Regions from separate parts of the Homo sapiens genome. Here all the other regions are linked to region 4. The links are contacts of gene promoters, found by promoter capture Hi-C in blood cells and fetal thymus (Javierre and others, 2016). All regions are on one chromosome and are shown on one strand. The core of a region is centred on a gene start or on the middle of the fragment in contact, and the rest is flanking DNA. Distances in the headings are between cores, read along the strand shown.

Region 1 (4,880 bases), core at 1,175-3,674, 580 kb after region 4:
TCCCAGGCTCAGGCAACCCACCCACCTCAGCCTCCTAAGTAACCGCGACTGGGACTATAGGTGCACCACCAGGTCCAACTAATTTTATTTTGTATTTTTTGTAGAGAGGGAGTCTCACTTTGTTTGTCAGGTTGGTTTCAAACTCTTGGGCTCAAGATCTGCCTGCCTCAGCCTCCCAAAGTGCTGAGATTACAGGCATGAGTCATTACACCTGATGAACAAAAAATTTTTTAAGTTAAAAAAAAATTAAGGCTGGGCGCAGTGGCTCATGCTTGTAATCCCAGCACTGTGGAAGGCAGAGGTGGGCGGATCACTTAAGCCCAGGAGTTCGAAACCAGCCTGGCCAGCAAAGGGAGACCTCATTGCTACTAAATAAATAAATAAATAAATAAATAAGCTGGGTGTGGTCATGTGTGCCTGTAGTCCCAGGTACTCGGGAAGCTGATGAGGACTGCTTGAGCCAGGAGTTGGAGTCTGCAGTGAGCTATGACTGTGCCACTAAACTCCGGTCTGGGCAACAGAGTGAGATCCTGCCTCAAAAAAAAAAAAAATTAAAACATTTGTGTTAAAAACTAAGATATTAGCTTAGGCCTACACAGGGTCAGCACCACCAATATCACTATCTTCAACCTCCACATCTTGTCCCACTGGAAGGTCTTCAGGGACAATAACACACATGAAGCTGTCATCTCCTATGAAAACAATGCCTTCTGGAAAACCTCCTGAAGGATCTGAGACTGTCTTAGAGTTAACTCTTGTTTTGTATAAGTAGAATTAGACTCTAAAATAGCAATATTAGTATAGCAAAACAACAAATAGTATAGCAAACATATGAACCAGTAACATAGTCATTTATTATCAAGTATTATGTGCTATACACAACTGTACGTGCTACACTTTTATAAGAGTGGCAGTGCAGTGGGTTTGTTTATACCAGCCTCATCACAAACACATGAGTAATGTGTTGCACTATAACATAATGATGGCTATAGTCACTAGGCAAAAGGAATTTTTCAGCTTCATTATCATCCTATGGGACCATTACCATATATGCTGTCCGTCACTGAAATGTCCTTATGCAGCATATGACTGTATTGTATGATCCCACTTATATGAGGTAACCAGAGTGGTCAAACTCATAGAGACAAAGTAGAATGGTGGTTTCCAGTTGCTGGTGGTTGCCAGTTGCTGGGGAATGGGAAGTTAGTGTTTAATGGGCAAAGAGGTTCAGTTAGGGAGGATGAAAAAGTTCTGGATATGGATGGTGGTGATGGCTGCACAACAGTGTCAAATATACTTAATGCTGCAGAACTGTATACTTTAAAATGGTAAGTTTTATGTCTATTTTACCACAATAAAAAAAAATTGGAAATGAATGATTACTGAAAAAAGAATCACAGTCACGAGGATAAAGAGTAAGTTACTGTTCAGACAAAGAGGATAGAAGAAACTATATTTTTACATGTACTTTATTATTTTCATATGGTACCTGGATTTCAAGCTCAGCAATGTGTTGTCGTAGTTCAGCCACAGCAGCTATGCTATCTGCTTCCCGAAGCCTCACAGCCATCACTTCTTCCTTATTCTAGTGTGGTAAACCAAACCGAAACAAAATAAACCAGGTGTGTTTGGAATTCAGATTTTAGAAAAGTAATAGGTTGCATAAACCATACGTTAAGTATTATCTAGCAGGGTCTAAGGCAGCATCCATAATGAAACAATATGCTCAATACATACAACGAAGCAGTGAGATATAAATGTTCACATCAAGTGGAATAAATAACAATTATAAATGGCCATATATCAATTCAAATTAAGTTTTGCCTCCAAAGGAATTTGTGTGAAATTTATGAAAAAACTCCAGGGTTTTAGAGTGTTTTGCATTTTGAAACTGGGGTTCACAGGCTTGTAATATTTCAACTTTAAGTGAGAACATTCAAATTAAGTTGAGAGGGAAAATAACATTAATATTATAAACAATATCCACACATTTTACACAACTAAAAATAAAAAAGCTTTAATAATTATAAATTAATCATAAGCTATAATATTATAATACTAAATGAAAATGAATCAGATTTACATAATTCACGGACTGGCTTTCTTGAAAAATTAACTTTGTTCCCGAATTATTCCAACATAACAGGGTAAAACATACACATTTAATCAGAATGTACTAGGTGCTAGGGTAACAATACATTGGTCATTCTCAAAACCTGCAAAGGCATCACGAAAGATTGAATAAATTAACACACAGCTTAAACACAGGGGAGATATCAGAGTTTGCATCTGTAACATACTTCACAGAGGTATTAATGAACAATTAAAAATTAAATAAAATCCCATATTAGTTCATAAAATCCTCTAATATTCTAAATCTGAGCCCATTACTTAGACAAGTTCAAAGAAAATTATTATTTTCAACAGCAAGTTCCTCAAAGATTTATTTCCAAAGAACACTTTACTTTGCTCAACAGGTACTAAGGCATTTGAGGAGCAATATTTAATCTAGTAACACCATTATCAAAATATGTTTAAGGAAAACTAACACCAATAATAAATAAAAGATTAAATTTAGTTATCTATAAGATGTCAACACAGACAATTTAGCATCATAAAAACTCAATCAGATATTGGTATGACAAATCAGACTGATACAACCTCATTTAATATTATTTTATTTATAGTTTAGTCATATCCTTCAAAAGTGACTGTGCTTTTAGTAGGAATTTCAGTACTGCCTACAGATTTCTGTCAGTATACATTGTAACAGCCATGCATATTTATAAGGATGTAATTTCATCTCTGGATTTCAGTGACACTGATAAACCATTCAAGCTTCACTCTTGGTTTTTAATGTCACCAGAATAAGCTGATGGAATTACAGCTTTACATGTGCCATCAAAAGTCTTATTTCTTATACAATAATAAGGCTGGAATCTTTAAAGGGCATCATTCCTACTATCTCACCATGGAAAGGTGGATGCCTAGTTTATTTTTTTAAATCCCATAACTTGCCTTTAGTAATCCATTCTAATGCCCAGTCTACAGTCATCTCTTTAGTTATTTCACACACACACACACACACACACACACACACACACACCCCCCCAAACCCTCCCTCCTCTCCTTCCATCTCACTGCCTTTCCCCCACTCTCTCACCACTGCTATATTGTAAATTTATTTCAGGAAAGAATGTACTTGCATTCAAATACTTTTGATGCTTTTTGAATCCAAACACTTCACAAAAAAGTAAAGTATATAACTGATTAAAATAATAATGGGTAATATACCCATTTTTCCCAACACACTGGTACATACACATTTCTTTTGCTCTCTAGTCTATCCAGAAAACATGTATCAATGTTATTAACATTACTGCCCACTAATAAGATACCAATCAAAGCAGAGGAGCCCTAACCTCTCTAAATGACCCATCTTTTTTGATCAAGCCATTAAAAGCTCTGGTTTTAAAGGGTTACCAGTCAAAAGAAAAACTGTAAAGAAATACTAGTAAATGCCAATCCAGGAAATTAAATTAACCAAGGAAGTGACTGAAAATGTTTCTTGACTAAAATCCACCCCAGAAGCAAGATGAGCTGACCTGGTCTGAAAGCAACTACCAAAACAAGTTCAGGAAAAGTAGAAAATAGGACGAGCTTTTTTGTTTTGTTTTTAAGATAATCTAATCACGATAAAACAAACAAAAAAAAGGCATTATTATATTGACAAAAAACAAAATCAGTTAGTTGACATATTTACCTTGCATTCAATCTCTGCTTGTTTACGCTTTGCTTCACTTAATTGAGTAAGGAGTCCTTTGTTCTGTGCAGAAAGATACTGCACTTTCTCCTGTAGGCTAATCACCTCTTGTTCTGCTCTTCGAAGATGGTTACTATTGATCTGGTTCTAATAATCAGAAATATAAATACTGAGACTATAGATACAAGACCTAAAAATTAAAAAAAATTACCTATCCATTTTATACCATAACATTATTAAAAATGTTACTAGTTATAGGTCACTGTTATTCAACAAAATCAACATTAAAAAATAAGATAAAACTGCCTTTAAAATCAAGTCATTCAAGGCTGAGGCGGGCGGATCACAAGGTCAGGAGATCAAGACCATCCCGGCTAACGCGGTGAAACCCCGTCTCTACTAAAATTACAAAAAAAAAAAATTAGCCAGGCATGGTGGCGGGCACCTGTAGTCCCAGGTACTCGGGAGGCTGAAGCTGGAGAATGGCGTGAACCCAGGAGGTGGAGCCTGCAGTGAGCGGAGACTGAGCCACTGCACTCCAGCCTGGGCGACAGAGCGAGACTCCGTCTCAAAAAAAAAAAATTAAAAATAAATAAATAAATAAATAAAATCAAGTCATCCAAAGGAATGCATACTGTCAATATTAGAGACTCTCAATATAGCTCAATATACCATTTATACAAAAAATAGGTGTAAACTATAAAAATTCTTATACACAACTTGAAGGTATTCCTTTCTAAGATTGGCAATGGGAGTACAAAATGGATAGATACAGGAATGGTGAGTTTAATTCCTCTTTCCAGTTCCAGAAAGAAAGCACAAACCAGTCAAAAGGTACCATCATGGCCAGTGCAGTGGCTCATGTCTAATCCCAGCATTCTGGGAGACCAAGGTGGGCAGATCACTTGTGGCCAGGAGTTTGGGACCAACTTGGCCAAAATGGTGAAACCCCGTATCTACTAAAAATACAAAAATTAGTCAGGCATGGTGGTGCACGTCTATAATCCCAGGTACTTGGGAGGCTGAGGCACAAGAATCACTTGAACCCAGGAGGCAGAGGTTGCAGTGAGCTGAGATCACACAACTGCACTCTAGCCTGGGTGACAAGAAGACTCTG
Region 2 (5,089 bases), core at 2,590-5,089, 620 kb after region 4:
AATTTATTCTTATGCATTTTATTCTTTTGGAAGCTACTGTGAATGGACTTTTTTTCTTAATTTCCTTCTCTAGTTATTCATTGCTGGCGCATTCTTTTACTTTTAACCTAACAAGATCTTTGTATTTAAAGCAAATTTCTTACAGATATGTTTTAACTTTTTATCCAATCTTATAATTGGTATATTTAAAATACATTTAATATAATTATTGATATGGTTGGAATAAAATCTATAATCTTCCAAATTTTCTATCTGATCCACTTACTTGCTGTTCCTTTTTTCTTTTTCCTGATTAAATAATTTCTTAAATTACTCAATTTTATCTCTGTTATTTGCTACCTAATTATATATTTTTCTCTAAAAAAATTTTAGGTGGTTTCCCTATGGTTTATAAATATACATTTTACTGTTCCTTGAAAACCACAAATTTATTCCTTGATAAAGGCCTTTCTACTAAGTGTATGCTCTATCTGGAATGTTTCTTCCCAGATCTTCAAATAGTTTCCATCTTCATATCATTGAGTCTCTGGTCAAATCTTAGCTCCTCAGGGAAGCTCTCCAAAACTAGCTTACCTACAGTAGCACCTGCACAAACCACCTCTCCTCTGCTTTATTTTTATTTTTCTTCATCACCTTATTACCACCTGAAATTGTATCTGTTTAATGTGTCTCCCCAACTAGAACACTTCACGTAACAGCAGTCTTCGTTTTTCTTGTTTACTATTATCGTACCCTCTGCACTTAAGACAATACTTTGCACATTAGTTTTCAAATAAATATATGAATAAGTTCATTCCATTATAAGATTAACACATATAGGACTAAGGAAAATACAAAGTATTTACACAAATTGAACCTGATATATTTACAATAAATTACAGAATAAAGAAATTAGTTGTTATCTTTCCCATGACTAAATTGGCCGCTACTTATATTTGGAGAAAAGGAGAAAGAGAGGAACCATAAACAAAATCTCGGTCAAAAAATTATTTAAATGTCTATTTGATATAGTCTTTGCATTGAAAGAATTTTAAAGTTAAAAAAAGATTTGAACCACAATGAGATACTACCCCACACCTACTAGGATAGCTATTACTTAACAAACAAAAATCAGAAAATAACAACAGTTGGCAAGGATATTAAGAAATTGGGGGCCGGGCGCAGTGGCTCACGCCTGTAATCCCAGCACTTTGGGAGGCCGAGGCGGGCGGATCACGAGGTCAGGAGATCGAGACCATCCCGGCTAAAACGGTGAAACCCCGTCTCTATTAAAAATACAAAAAATTAGCCAGGCGTAGTGGCGGGCGCCTGTAGTCCCAGCTACTTGGGAGGCTGAGGCAGGAGAATGGCGTGAACCCGGGAGGCGGAGCTTGCAGTGAGCCGAGATCCCGCCACTGCACTCCAGCCTGGGCGACAGAGCGAGACTCCGTCTCAAAAAAAAAAAAAAAAGAAAGAAATTGGAACCCTTGTACACTGCTTGTGGGAATGGAAAGTGGTACAGTTGCTATAGATAAGTCTGACACAACCTCAAAAAATTAAACATAAAATTACATATGATCCAGCAACTCTACTTCTAGGTATATGCTTAAAAGAATTAAGAGCAGGAACTTAAACAGATACTTATAGGGCAATGTTCATAGCAACATTATCCACAATAGCTAAAAGGCAGAAATAACCCAAATGTCCATCAACAAACAAACGGATGAACAAAACGTAGTATATACATACTATGGAATTTTATCAGCCATAAAAATGAATGAGATTCTGATACCTGTTATAACAATGATGGACTTTGAAAACATCATGCTTAGTGCAATAAGCCACACACAAAAGGACAAATATTATGTGCTTCCACTTAAATAAGCTACCCAGAATAAGCAAATTCATAGAGACAGAAAGTAGAACAGAGGTTACCGGAGGCTGGGAAGATGGGAAAAGATTATTGTTACTAGATACAGAGCTTCTGTTTCAGACAATGAAAAGGTTCTATAAATGAACAGTGGAGATGGCTGCACAATATTATAAATGTACTTAATGACACTGAACTGTACACTTAAATGGTAAATTTTAGGTTGTATATATTTTATCACAATGAAAAAAATCAGATCCAACAATCCCACTGCTGGCTCCAAAAGAAATAAAATCAGTATGTTGAAGAGGTATCTGTACTCCCACATTTATTGCAACACTACTCACAAAAGCTAAGATATGGAATCAACCTAAATATCCATCAACAGACAAACGGATAAGGGAAATGTGGTGTGTATGCACAATCAAATACTATTCTTGGGGAGAGGGTTCGAGATGAATGACTAGAGGTGTCCAATGCCAGTTCTCTTCAGAAAGAAGAACCAAGGTTACAAGTGAATAACCATAATGTGAATAGACTATCCAGAGAATGCTGGAGGCTAGTAGAGAACTCATGTGAAGAAGCTGGGGCACAGAAAAAGAAGGAAGCAAGAAGCTGGCAGAGATCGGCTAGGAACCCCGAGGGATTTGGTATCTAGTCAAAAGGGTAGTTGGGAGTGTTTGGGCTCCTCTTTAACCTGTGACAAACCACTGGTAACTGAACTGTCGGAGATCTCCTCTACCCTGCAAACCCAAACACTGGTGTGGGCAGTGATTTGGGGACTTCTTGAGGGCACTGCACCAGATTACCAACTTGCACTGGGTTGCTCACTCTGCCCCCGGACTTGAGCAGCAGCGATAGGGTGCTATACTGGGAGCACAGCCATCAGGGGTCTGTACCCTGCCCAGGGAACCTCAGCCTTTGTGTCTCCACATCACCAGAGCCCCATAGACATTCCCTGGCATCTGCTCAGATTGTGGCAGCAGCAAAGGGATGGCTGGACCCAGGGAGCTGCAGGGTTCCTCGGCAACTGCTGCCCCGAAGAGAAGAACAAGTATTGCACGCCAAGGGAGCACCCACTGGGACAAAGGAAACCAGAACACATACTTTCCTGTGCCCAAGAGCTCACCACCTGTGGACTCTGAGTGACTGCACTGCCTCCAGCAAAGATGTGGGCACTGTGCTTGGCTCTACAAGGCTTTGCAAGTGTGATTTCATCCCAGGGGCCAACCTAGTATGAGTGCTCAGACCCAGGCATGGAGATGGGGACTCCTCCTCAACCCCACTGCTGTAGGCATAGCCATGGCTGATACCACAGGAAACTGGCATGGGTGCATCAGAGCACACAGACTTTCTGGGGCAGACAGGGGTGACTGTGGTCTTACTGGCAATCAGTCCACCATATCTAAGCTTGTGCAAAAGGTGGGACCCCCTCCCCCTCTCCATGCAGAGCAGCAGCGTTCCTGCAAGGGAGAGGAGAGCCAAAAAGCTGTGTGTTTTGGACTGAGGAAGAAGACTCCAAAACAAAGACATTCTGGCAGCAAGCCAAGGGGCAGTCATCTTTTATGGCTCTCAGGTACATTGCAGCCTGGAGATAGACAGTGGTGTCTGACCAATTTGAGTGTTCTGAGTTTGGGGACAGGGGCATGACAGGGAGAGAGATTACATTCCTGCCTGCCCGGGCTATGGAACTGGGGTGGCTCCCTGCCTCTCTGCAGAGACCTCAGTGTACTTACCAGGAGCTTCCCTGCCACCCCCACTCAGGTCTTCTGCTTGTGCTCATCATTGGGGAATCCAAGGGCCGGCTTGGCTGTCCATCTCTGCCCTGACTTGTCCCCTGCTAGGGGGTGAGCAGAGAGCTCAAGCCACTGTACATTCCACAGCCCAGCCCATTGCCTGAAGCAACAAAGAACTTCCCCCATTAAACAAAGATCAAGCACCTGTCCATCTGCTTCTGTTGCAGCAGGCTCTTACCCACAACCACCACCTACTGTCCTGGAGGCTGAAATGCACAACCCAACAGAAAATCTGCTGACACAAGTGCACAGTGCTGGGAAATGAGATAAGATTCTTGAGACTTCCGCCATCCCAGCCCTGCAGGAAGCTGTGATACTACTCACACAGCCAGTACACTACTACTACAACTAGCATTTGAGAAAACCACCACACAAAGGCTATCTATATTCAAAGAACTCATACATTCTGCCAAGGAAGCACCCAGAACATACATTGTAGTTATATCCTTCAGAGGAAAAAAATTCCTGTCCAAATGAAAGTAAATTCAAAAATAAGAAGAAAAGATAAGTTTCTCCATATGAGAAGGAAACAGCCAAACAATTCTGGAAGTATAAAGACAGTGTTATGACATTCTCAAAAGATCACACTAAATCTCTAGCAATAGATCCTAACTAAAATGAAATCTCTGAAATACCATATAAAGAATTAAAAATACTGATTTCCAAGAAGCTCAATGAGATCTAAGAGAAAGCTGAATGAAAATCAACACCAAGAAATCTGAAAATCAAGTCTGGAAATGAAAAATTCATTGAAGAAATTATAAAATACAGGTAAAAGCTTTAACAGTAGACTAAACCCAGCAGAAAAAACAATCTCAGAGCTTAAAGACAGGTCTATTGAATTAGTCCAGTCAGACGAAAATAAAGAAAAAATAATTTTCAAAAATGAACAAAGCCTTTGAGAAGTATAGGGGTTATATAAAATGTCTAAACCTACAAGTCATAGGTATTCCTGAGGGAGATGAAAAAGCAAAAAGTTTGGAAAACCTATCTGAGGAAGTAATTGAGGAAAACTCCCTACTCTTGCTAGAGATTTAGACATCCAAATAGAAGATGCTCAGAGAACTCTAGGAAAATACAGTGCAAGAAGGACTTCACCAACACATATACTCATCAGACTAATGACAACATGAAGGAAAAAAAAAAATCCTAAAATCAGCAAGAGAAAGGTGTCTAATCATCAGTAAAGGAAATCCCCTCAGACTAACAGTGGACATACTGGCAGAAACTTTACAAGCCAGAAAAAAAATCACAATCCCATTTTAAGACTTATTAAAGAAAAAAAAAAACCTGTCAACCATGAATTTTTTATCCTGCTAGAACAAGCTTCATAAATGGAGAAAAAGTCTTTCCCAGACAAGCAAATGCTAACAGAATTCATCACCATTAGACCAGCCTTACAAGAAATGTTCAAGTGAGTTCTAAACATGTAAACAAAAGGTCA
Region 3 (4,885 bases), core at 1,716-4,215, 520 kb before region 4:
CCCAGTCATTGCTTGCTGACCCTTCATCTTCTGATCTGAGCAAGAGTGAAACTGGACGCAGTAGTTCATGCTTGTAATCCCAGCACTTTGGGAGGATTGCTTGAGGCCAGGAGTTTGAGACCTGCCTGGGCAACCTAGCAAGAACCCATCTTTACAAAAAACTTAAAAATTATCCAGGCAAGGTGGCACACATCTGTAGTCCCAGCTACTTGGGAGGCTGAGGTAGGAGGATCGCTTGAGCCCAGGAGTTTGAGGCTGTAATGACCTGCGATCACTCCATTGCACTCCATCCAGCCTGGTCAACAAAACAAGACCCTGCCTCTGAGAAAAAAAAAAAAGAGTGACATTGCTTGAAAGATGTCTTCTCTGAATTAAATTAGATTCTCCTATTTTTTTTTATTGTCATAGCATCTTTAGATTTCTTTCAAAGCCCTTATCGTATTCTGTCATTATAAGTTACCTTGTTATTATCTGTATTGTCCACTAGATAGTAAACTCCATGAGGACAGAAATTCTGTAAATTTTATTCACTATTGCATCACTAATGTCTATAATCCCTAACAGCAAATAACAGTGCCAACTAAATACTGAATGAATGAATAAGCCTGTTTGTTTCAGCCTTCTGTGTATTATAGAAGACAAGAAAATGAGATGGCCTCTATAAAGAATGCTTGCATACATTCTTGTACCCTAAATATGATCATTTCTTTTTCTATATTTTTAACTGTCTCCCTCTACCACTTTTTCTTTTTCTGTGCTTAAAAAAGTACATGCTAAAAATGCCTTCATCTGATCTTACAATGCAGTCAGGCAAATTGTCTTCAGGCTCAGCTTCCATTGTGTTATATTTTCCTTCCTTCTGTTTTGTTTCTTCCTTTCCACTTAAATTGCTGTCTTAAAAATTACCAGTTAATTATTCTTTGCCTAACTAAAAGCCTTCCCTCAGTTGTTATTCTCTTTGACTTCCATGCTAATAACTCTTCCTTCAAAATTCCTTTCTTATTTGGCTCTCTAACTTGGCTTCTTCCAAGCTCAGTTTTCTTTTCTCGCTATTAATTTTCATGTCTGTAGGTATCACTTCTCTGCAGGTACTCTCACTGACTTCTCACTTGTCTTCTCACTTAAGGCTTAGTCCCTTGTCTAGATAACTCTATCAAAATGATGAGGTCTGGTTTTAGATGCTTCTTTTACTGGCTTCTCTACTCATTTTTTGGTATCTCTATTGTTTTCTTACTCAGGCTCAAAATCATAGAAATCACCTTTGTCCTATTTTCCTCTTTTATGAAGCAGTGTAACATAGTGATTAAGAACATATATCTGGAGCAAAATGCCTGGGTTCAAATCCTGGCTCATTGATCTATTAGTTTAGTGACCTTGATTTATTTATTACTGTTACCATCTTATCTGCTAAGTCTTATTAATCTTTTCCCTTTTTTCTCATTCTGCTGCTTCCCCAGTCACAACTATAATTACCTCGTTTGAATTATTATAGTAACTTCAAAACTGGTGCCATTTTTGTTTTAAAAGAAAACTTTAACACGAGAACACAAGTCACTTGTGTTTATATTATGTGATGATGATTTAAGTCAGTTTTCTAGCAATATGTATGCATTGCTAAAATTGCGGTTTTTAAAATTAGGCATAAAGTTTCAGTCCCTCTGACCTTTCTTCTAAAAGTTCCTTGTGCATTTTTCCACTAGGGGGCAAGATAATGTCATGGGAGTTAAATACTGCTTTAGGAAGAATGATCATGTAGTTATTGCTATGCCATATCTGGAGCATGAGTCGTTTTTGGTAGGTTTTAATATTTCTTGAATTTTTATTAGCTAAATATTTAATTGCAAACAATATTTGTAACTCATTTCATTTGTAACTTTGTTTTAGGACATTCTGAATTCTCTTTCCTTTCAAGAAGTACGGGAATATATGCTTAATCTGTTCAAAGCTTTGAAACGCATTCATCAGTTTGGTATTGTTCACCGTGATGTTAAGCCCAGCAATTTTTTATATAATAGGCGCCTGAAAAAGTAAGTATGAAGAGTTACTAGAAAATATTTATCCTATTTCTTTTAAAAAACAATTTTATTGTCTATATTTAAGGTATTGAACATGATGTTATATATAGTACAAAAGTTACTATTGTGAAGCAAATATTTATCTCAGTTACCCATCTTATTTTTGTTTTTACGGCAAGAGCAGCTAAAATTTACTCATTTAGTATGAATCTCATATACAGTACAGTTTTATTACCTGTAATCTTCAGAGTGTGCATTAGGTCTAGATTTATTTATCCTACATATCTGCTACTTTGTATCCTCTGACTTATATCTCTTAGATATAATATAACATACTGCAATAGCCATGCACAGATTATTTCTGTTTCAGTTTCTTTGTGATTGGAAAGGGAAATTTGGTGATGAAGAAGATAAAATTGTATTAGTGGAATAATGTACATTATTAGATGTACTATGGTTCAGTGGAAATAGCATGAACTAACAGACTTAGAGTCTAATAATTTTTGACCTTAGACATGTCTCTTATCTCTGGACTTCATTTTTCTTTTCTAGTAAGTGAGGGGATTGGACCACATGATAGCCAATTTCCTGTTTTAACACAAAAGTTTTATTTTTATGTATACTTTTTAATGCTGATTATAATTATAGAGAAATTATAAGCTAAAAATAACATAAATACCTCTATATAATGGATCATATTAAACATAATAATATTATAACTTCTTTTTTGAGCTTTTATATGCCTGACTTTTTAATTTTCTTTAATTGGATCAGATTTTAAAACCATGATTTTAATTTTTTTAAGCTTTCTTAACTAGAAATTATCTGCTATGATGCCATCTCTGCCACCATCAGAGAACAACGGACTGTGTTTATGTTATGTATTCCTCTTCTGCCTTATTAACACAGACCACTGGAAAAAGAAAATTTGATTGTGGGACAACTCTTAATTTTCAATCCTGGTTAGCTGTTAAATTCTTACTTTGTCTGGAAAACTTATTTTTTTTTCTTTTTTCCAGAATGTTATAAATTCCTAATTGATCCCAAAAAGAATTACAGTTTTTATGAGGATGGTTTGAGAGTATTACAATGTTACTAAGCTTTAATTGCTACAGATAAGTAAAAATGCTTAATTTTGTCTCTTAGGTATGCCTTGGTAGACTTTGGTTTGGCCCAAGGAACCCATGATACGAAAATAGAGCTTCTTAAATTTGTCCAGTCTGAAGCTCAGCAGGAAAGGTGTTCACAAAACAAATCCCACATAATCACAGGAAACAAGATTCCACTGAGTGGCCCAGTACCTAAGGAGCTGGATCAGCAGTCCACCACAAAAGCTTCTGTTAAAAGACCCTACACAAATGCACAAATTCAGATTAAACAAGGAAAAGACGGAAAGGTTCTATCTCTTTTATTTCTTAAGTACCGACACTGTTTTAGAAATATACTCCTTCAACCAACAGAGGGAGATAGAATACTAGGATAGTACTTATAATTTAAAAAACTTTTTTTTGCATTTGTTATATGTATTCATTTGATTAAATTTTCACTAAGATTTGTACTGAATCATTTTGGTTACTATTTTAAAACTAAAATTTACTTTGTCAGTTTATAACATCTGTCATTAACTATTATGAAATCATATTTTATGACAAAAATGGAAAATATTAAATTTTCCCTGCATGTTAAAAAGTTCAGATTAATTATCCTTTTTAAAAGAAAGCATTAGTTATAGGGGAGGAATTCTGAAGTGTCTATCTCCATTTTAGCTGCACAGCAAAATGTAACATCCATGCAGGTGGTTTTTGAATTTTTTTTTAGTTATATATATTTGTGGACTATGATAACATTGTATGGGTGTTGAGTTCTGTCTAGACTATTTTCTCCTTTCACAGAAGTGGTTTGGTGCCTGAGAATGACTTGGATGCAGCTGTTTTTGTTTCATCTCACTTAACTCTTTCAAAACTATGGCAGAGTACAGCTGGCAGAAAGTGTTACAGATATAATCCTTATTTTCCTTGTTTTTGTTGGTATTGTAGGAGGGATCTGTAGGCCTTTCTGTCCAGCGCTCTGTTTTTGGAGAAAGAAATTTCAATATACACAGCTCCATTTCACATGAGAGCCCTGCAGTGAAAGTAAGTAATGTAGCTTAATAGCATAATGGTCAGTCAGTCATACACTGAAGAGAATTTAGGTAATAACTAGATTAACATTTATTATCAGAAATTTTTTTAAACTAGAGTTTGGCTTTGGCAGAAGGTATTACTGCTTTAAGCATTTAGTCAAAACTTGTTTTCTCCAGTTTTTTTCTGAACTTTTCTGGTGGAATTTTTTCTCATTTTTGGTTAGCTATTACTGTCTTTCTCTAGAGGAACATTTAGAACATTAAGGGCTTTCTGTCATTGCTAGAGTGTGAGCTCCATACAGTTAGCTAACTATTCTGACACATAGTTGATAGTGTAAAGATGTTTGTAAAGTTAACAAAATCATCATCAATGTAGATGATTTCAGATTGACTTATGATATCTTGTGACAGCTAGACAGCATGAGCAACAAATTAAAACTGTGATTTTAGCCAACGTACTTGTGCAGTTTACAGTTCTGAAATGGAGTTAGACACTAGAACATAACTGTTTTATACTTCTGTAATATATCAGGAAAAGTTCTAATAAAGTATAACTCAAATATTGGCCAAGCTAGGACTAATTAGTAAATTTTAATATAAGGTGACTTTACAGAAAAACCCAAGAAGACCTTAAACATTTTAATAGACAACAGTTTATTTACAGTCCAATAGCCATTCAGCAGTTTTTAAAGTTATGCTTCCGCTATTGCTTTTTGCCATACTAGCATTTTAGGACATCATGTTTAAT
Region 4 (5,352 bases), core at 1,444-3,943:
TTTTTTTTTAAACAACCATGGAACATTCACCAAGATAGACCATATCCCAGATCATAAAACAAATTTAAAAGAATAGAGGTCATGTGGAGTATGTTCTTGGGCCATAATAGAATCAGATACAAGTCAATAATGGACTGCCAAGCACAGTACCTCATGCTTGTAGTCTCAGCACTTTGGGAGGCTAAAGTGAGAGGATTGCTTGAGGCCAGGAGTTCAAGACCAGCCTGATCAACATAGCAAGATCTCTATCTCTTAAAAATTTAATGTGTTATGAGTTAAGAGTTTGGAGGACTGAAAGTAATAATAGAAAAATTGCTAAACACATTAAAAACACAATGGGGCAAGGAGGAAGACAGGAATCTTTGTTTTTTTTTATTTATTTATTTTTTGAGACGGAGTCTCCCTTTGTCACCCAGGCTGAAGTGCAGTGGTGCAATCTCAGCTCCCTGCAATCTCTGCCTCCCGGGTTCAAGCAATTCTCATGCCTCAGCTTCCCAAGTAGTTTGGACTACAGGCGTGCACTACTATGCCTGGCTAATTTTTTTGTATTTTTAGTAGAGATGGGGTTTCAACATGTTGGCCAGGCTGGTCCAAAACTCCTGACCTCAGGTGATCTGACCAGCTCAGCCTCCCAAAGTGCTGGGATTACAGATGTGAGCCACCACCCCCGGCCCTGTTTTTTGTTTTGTTTTGTTTTGTTTTTCATTTTTTGAAACATAATCTCACTCTTTAACCCAGGCTAGAGTGCAGTGGCATGATTTTGGCTCACTGCAGCCTCAACCTTCCAGGGCTAAGGCGATCCTGCCACTTCAGCCTCCCAAGTAGCTGGGACTACAGGCGTGCACCACCACACCTGGCTAATTTCTCTATTTTTTGTAGAGACAGGGTTTTGCCATGTTGCCCACGCTGGTCTTGAATTGCTGAGCTCAAGCGATCCTCCTGCCTCAGCCTCCCAAAGTGCTGGGATTATAGGCGTAAGCCACAGCACCCAACCTAAAACAGGACATTTTAAAAAATACATAACAAATGGCAAAATACAACATATCAACACATATGTAATACGATTAAAGAGTACTGAGAGATGCCAGGCGCGGTGGCTCACACTTGTAATCCCAGCACTTAGGGAGGCTGAGGCGGGCGGTTCACGAGCTAACCTGGCTAACACGGTGAAACCCCGTCTCTACCAAAAATACAAAAAACTTAGCCGGGCATGGTGGCGGGCGCCTGTAGTCCCAGCTACTCAGGAGGCTGAGGCAGGAAAATGGCGTGAACCCGGGAGGCGGAGCTTGCAGTGAGCTGAGATGGAGATCGCGCCATTGCACTCCAGTCTAGGCGACAGAGTGAGACTCCGTCTCAAAAAATAAAATAAAAAGAGTACTGAGAGAAATGTATAGGTGCTAAATGATTGCATTAGAAATTGCAAAGGTCTCAATAAGTTCCTAACTCAAGACCCTAGAAAAAAAGAGCAAAATACAGTTAACCCTCAAACAACATGTGTTTGAACTGTGTAGGTCCACTTACACATGGATTTTCTTCCACCTCTTCCCTCCCCCTCACCCCAAGACAGGAAGATCAACCTCCCTTCTTCTTTCTCCTCCTCAGCTTACCTAACCTGATGATGACAAGGATGAACACTCTTAAGATAATCCACTTCCACTTAATGAATAGTAAATGTATTTTCTCTTCCTTATGATTTTAACATTTTTCTTAATTATAAAGATACAGTATGTAATACATAAACATATGTTAATTGTTTTGGTCAGTAGTAGGCTATTAGTACTTAAGTTTGGGGGAACTCAAAAGTTATACATGGATTTTCAGATGTGAAAGGGTTCAGCAACCCTAACCCCCCGCATTGTTCAAAGGTCAATTGTATAACTCACACATGCTGAAGTAAATTCAAAATTGTACAGCCACTTTGGAAACCAGTTTGACAGTTTCTCATAAAAAATGAACACTTAATACCTGACCCGGTGATTGGGAAAAGGCTTAATGAAATTCTAACAGTGAACTGGACGATAGAAGAGGTCAGGACAAGAGTGGCCATGTCGGTGCTGAGGCTGAGATACCTACCGAGGACTGTCACTCTCACGGCTTCCAGCCCTTCGACGAACTCTCAGGTGTGTGGCCTTCTGGCCAGGCTTCTGCCGCGTCACGTTGTTGAAGCATTCGTTGTATCCCTGGGGTTGCAGCTCTCTGTAAGTTTGCTGTGGCTGAACCAGGCAAGGCATAGGCGGATTTCTACAGAAATTATGATTCCACGAAAGATTTTGAGAAGAGGAAGGCTGGTATCTTTCAGAGTGCAGAGTGATTTTGCACTCTAAAGAATCTCTTTGGGTGTAATAGCATGGAAGTTTGTCGCTGACCTGTGTCCCTGAACTATGACACACGAATATGTGGGCTTAGAAATAGTTTTGCTTGATACATTGAGAACAACAAAGAAGACTGAGTGGCGCTACCTTCTTTGGTGCCCAGGATGGTTTGGGAAAGTCTCGCCTTCATCCTCCCCCACAGTTTTGCGATTTTGAAACGGGATCTCGCTCTCCGCGGAAGACAGCCAAGCTCTGCACCCCGGCCTGGCCCGCCGCACCCCGCAGGCCCGGCTCTCCCCTGCGCGCTCCGGGCTGGGCGCGGCGCGTGTGCGGAGCCGCCGCGGTGACACGGAACGCCGGCCGCCCCGGGCCGGGGGAGGCGCGCGTCGAGAGGCGACGGCGGGCTGGCCTGGCGCGCTGCGGCGCTCGCTCACCCGCTCCCGAGGAAGGGCAGTGGGCCCCGCCGCCGCCTCCCAATGGCGAGGCTGCGGGATTGCCTGCCCCGCCTGATGCTCACGCTCCGGTCCCTGCTCTTCTGGTCCCTGGTCTACTGCTACTGCGGGCTCTGCGCCTCCATCCACCTGCTCAAACTTTTGTGGAGCCTCGGCAAGGGGCCGGCGCAGACCTTCCGGCGGCCCGCCCGGGAGCACCCTCCCGCGTGCCTGAGCGACCCCTCCTTGGGCACCCACTGCTACGTGCGGATCAAGGTGAAGGGCCGCGCGGGCCTGGCGGGAGCGGGAGGGAGCGTGACCGCCGCGAGGGTGGGGGGCTCCGGGCTTCTCCTTCCGAGACGCTGGCTCAGCGTCCCCTAGTGTCCTGGCAGGAGGGGAGGAGGGGTTGGGTCCCTGTGTGTCGTGTGTGTGTGTGTGTGTGTGTGTGTGTGAGAGAGAGAGAGAGAGAGAGAGATACAGATAAACAGCACTCGGTCTTTGCAGGCACCTTGATTGGTTTCTGAATGTGGAACTTCTCTAATCAGGGGCCTCTTATATTACTGCCCCCCGGCGCCACAACAACCCAGAATAAACCTGCTCTTTTTCCTACTGCAAGGGGAAGCTGTCTCCTGTCACCCTTTTGCCCTTTAGAGCTCAGATCAGCTGTAGAGAATTGTTCCTCGTGGCATCCTAATGTCTCAGGAGGCTGTTCTTGCCCAATTTTAGAGATAATAAGAGTAAACAGTCAGTCTTTGGGAGTCATGAGTTTATTATGATCACAGACGACTTAGGTTGCATGAAACAATAAGTAAATTGTGTGTGTTGTGGGGAGGAATGCATACTTATGAAGTCAGGGACCAAAGAAAGGAATGGAATAAAAGGTAAATCCAGCCATGCCTGCAGACGCTAATTGTTCAAGCTTCCTCACAGCCCACAAATATTCTGTTTCCTGAGGCTCCAGGTGGTGAAGGGAAATAGTTCCCGTGATACACCCTGCAGTCTGACTCACAGGCCTTTCAAACCCAGCCTCATAAGAGGGGATGTTTATGTCACCAAGTCCTTATTTCCTGTTAGGAGCTAAATTGCCCCGCAGCTGAAGTTCAGAAGGGCAAGAGAACTTCTTTCTTGCCTGGGGTCGACATGAGAATTAAATAGGTTAATATTTATAAAAACAAACACGAAAAACTTAGAACAATGCCTGATGCATAGTCAGTGCAATAAAGTATCTGTTAATTAAATCCATTGCAGTGCCCATAACATTTAATCCTCCAAGACTCACCACCAATAAAAAAAGTTATTGAACCTCTAGGAAGCCATCGTGCAGCTGAGGGTAAAGTCAGATTTGTTATCTCTGTTCAACCTGAGGGGTAAAAGTAGTATAAGAACCATCTGGAATTCCATAAAACACTTTTCCCCTCGCTCTGGCCGCCTAAAGAGCTTCCCCAGAGACAGAGAACCGAGTGGAAAGAGCATTGTCCTGGGAGTTAGGACAAGATGGAGATTCTGGTCACAGCCCTGCTCTCAACCATTTTATGACTCATGTTACCATCTTTGGGCCTCATCTTCTGAATCTGCAAAATGATTCTTTCACATCTGAAAACTCAGTTGCTTGAGTTGCCTGCTATAAAAACCCAATGTCTGTGTTTAGCTTTTGGTTCTTTTTGTTTCCTAGCTTGCTTGCTTTCAGAGATTTTTATTCCTGCTGTTCCCTCTACTTTCCTCAATTCAGCCTGCTTAGTATTTGCTTGAATTCCTGACTCATTCCCATGTTTTTTTAATTTTCCTTGGGTTTTCTTGTCTCCTACATGCAGAGTGAAGTCTTGAGCACTCAGGGCATTCTCTTATTAGAAACGCACACTGACATGACATGAGCAGGCAGCAAGGGGAACAGAACATGCAACACTCAAAATAATAATGTGGGAAGGAGAGACCTAAAAATAAGAGAAGGAGGTGTGAATTATATAACTGATGGCACAGCTCTTGACGGGCAAGCTGAGAAAAGTAGATGACTAGGATGTAAACATGGCAGAAATATAAATTCAGATTAGAATTATTTACATGTCCTGCAGCATTTGAGGGAGATGAAATGTGACACATCAGTAAGATGAAAGTTACAAATGGTAAGATGAAAGTTACAAATTGTGACATTGCTTCAGAAGCTCATAATATATAAATTGACTGTACTAGAACAAGAAGAGAAGGTACTGTCAAGGGAGTGTTGACAAAGTGAATCTGTCAATTTACCCTATTAATAGGTCATGGGGTTTGCTTTTCTTTTTGAAAATTAATAAAAGTAAATATATTTCTTGATGTTAAAAATAAGGCAACTGAGTGTCATGAAGATATTGTAAATACACAAATGTTTTAAAATAAGGCAAGTTACTATTTTTTTAATGAAATGGAAATGCTAAATATATTGCTTTGTCAATCAACACAAACATCACTAAAATTCCATGCCCTCTACTTTCAGGATTCAGGGTTAAGATTTCACTATGTTGCTGCTGGAGAAAGAGGCAAACCACTTATGCTGCTGCTTCATGGATTTCCAGAATTCTGGTAAGCTTACCAACTAACATTTATTGTTACATTAAAACTTGGCTTATTTTCTC

Evidence for each region. The method cuts DNA at HindIII sites, captures the fragments that hold promoters and counts their contacts. A CHiCAGO score of 5 or more calls a contact.
Region 1: a fragment that was not itself captured here is called in contact with the fragment with the promoter of EPHX4 in region 4 in 3 of 17 cell types (total CD8 T cells, fetal thymus and total CD4 T cells); the score reaches 7.2 in total CD8 T cells.
Region 2: a contact is called between a fragment that was not itself captured here and the fragment with the promoter of EPHX4 in region 4, in 1 of 17 cell types (fetal thymus). The highest score is 5.1, in fetal thymus.
Region 3: a fragment that was not itself captured here is called in contact with the fragment with the promoter of EPHX4 in region 4 in 1 of 17 cell types (endothelial precursors); the score reaches 5.4 in endothelial precursors.

What each region holds. Positions count from the first base shown.
Region 1 is chr1:92,603,818-92,608,697 of GRCh38, forward strand. It overlaps EVI5 (ecotropic viral integration site 5), which reads right to left. Exons shown (of 20, transcript NM_001350197.2): 17 at 3,764-3,910; 18 at 1,490-1,585. Among named protein-coding and RNA genes, the nearest start is that of GFI1, 120 kb to the left of the region's middle. The HindIII fragment of the contact is 823 bases long and covers 2,014-2,836 here.
Region 2 is chr1:92,650,418-92,655,506 of GRCh38, forward strand. The region is part of intron 13 of EVI5 (ecotropic viral integration site 5); the gene reads right to left. Among named protein-coding and RNA genes, the nearest start is that of EVI5, 130 kb to the right of the region's middle. The HindIII fragment of the contact is 1,164 bases long and covers 3,258-4,421 here.
Region 3 is chr1:91,509,897-91,514,781 of GRCh38, forward strand. CDC7 (cell division cycle 7) reads left to right here. Exons shown (of 12, transcript NM_003503.4): 5 at 1,701-1,794; 6 at 1,885-2,027; 7 at 3,162-3,411; 8 at 4,052-4,147. Among named protein-coding and RNA genes, the nearest start is that of CDC7, 11 kb to the left of the region's middle. The HindIII fragment of the contact is 295 bases long and covers 2,819-3,113 here.
Region 4 is chr1:92,027,292-92,032,643 of GRCh38, forward strand. It overlaps EPHX4 (epoxide hydrolase 4), which reads left to right and starts at 2,694. Exons shown (of 7, transcript NM_173567.5): 1 at 2,694-3,019; 2 at 5,214-5,299. The coding sequence starts at 2,789. It overlaps LOC124904218 (a long non-coding RNA gene), which reads right to left and starts at 3,096. Exons shown (of 2, transcript XR_007066222.1): 1 at 2,074-3,096. RefSeq lists an enhancer at 2,393-2,894. The HindIII fragment of the contact is 12,008 bases long and covers 1-3,660 here.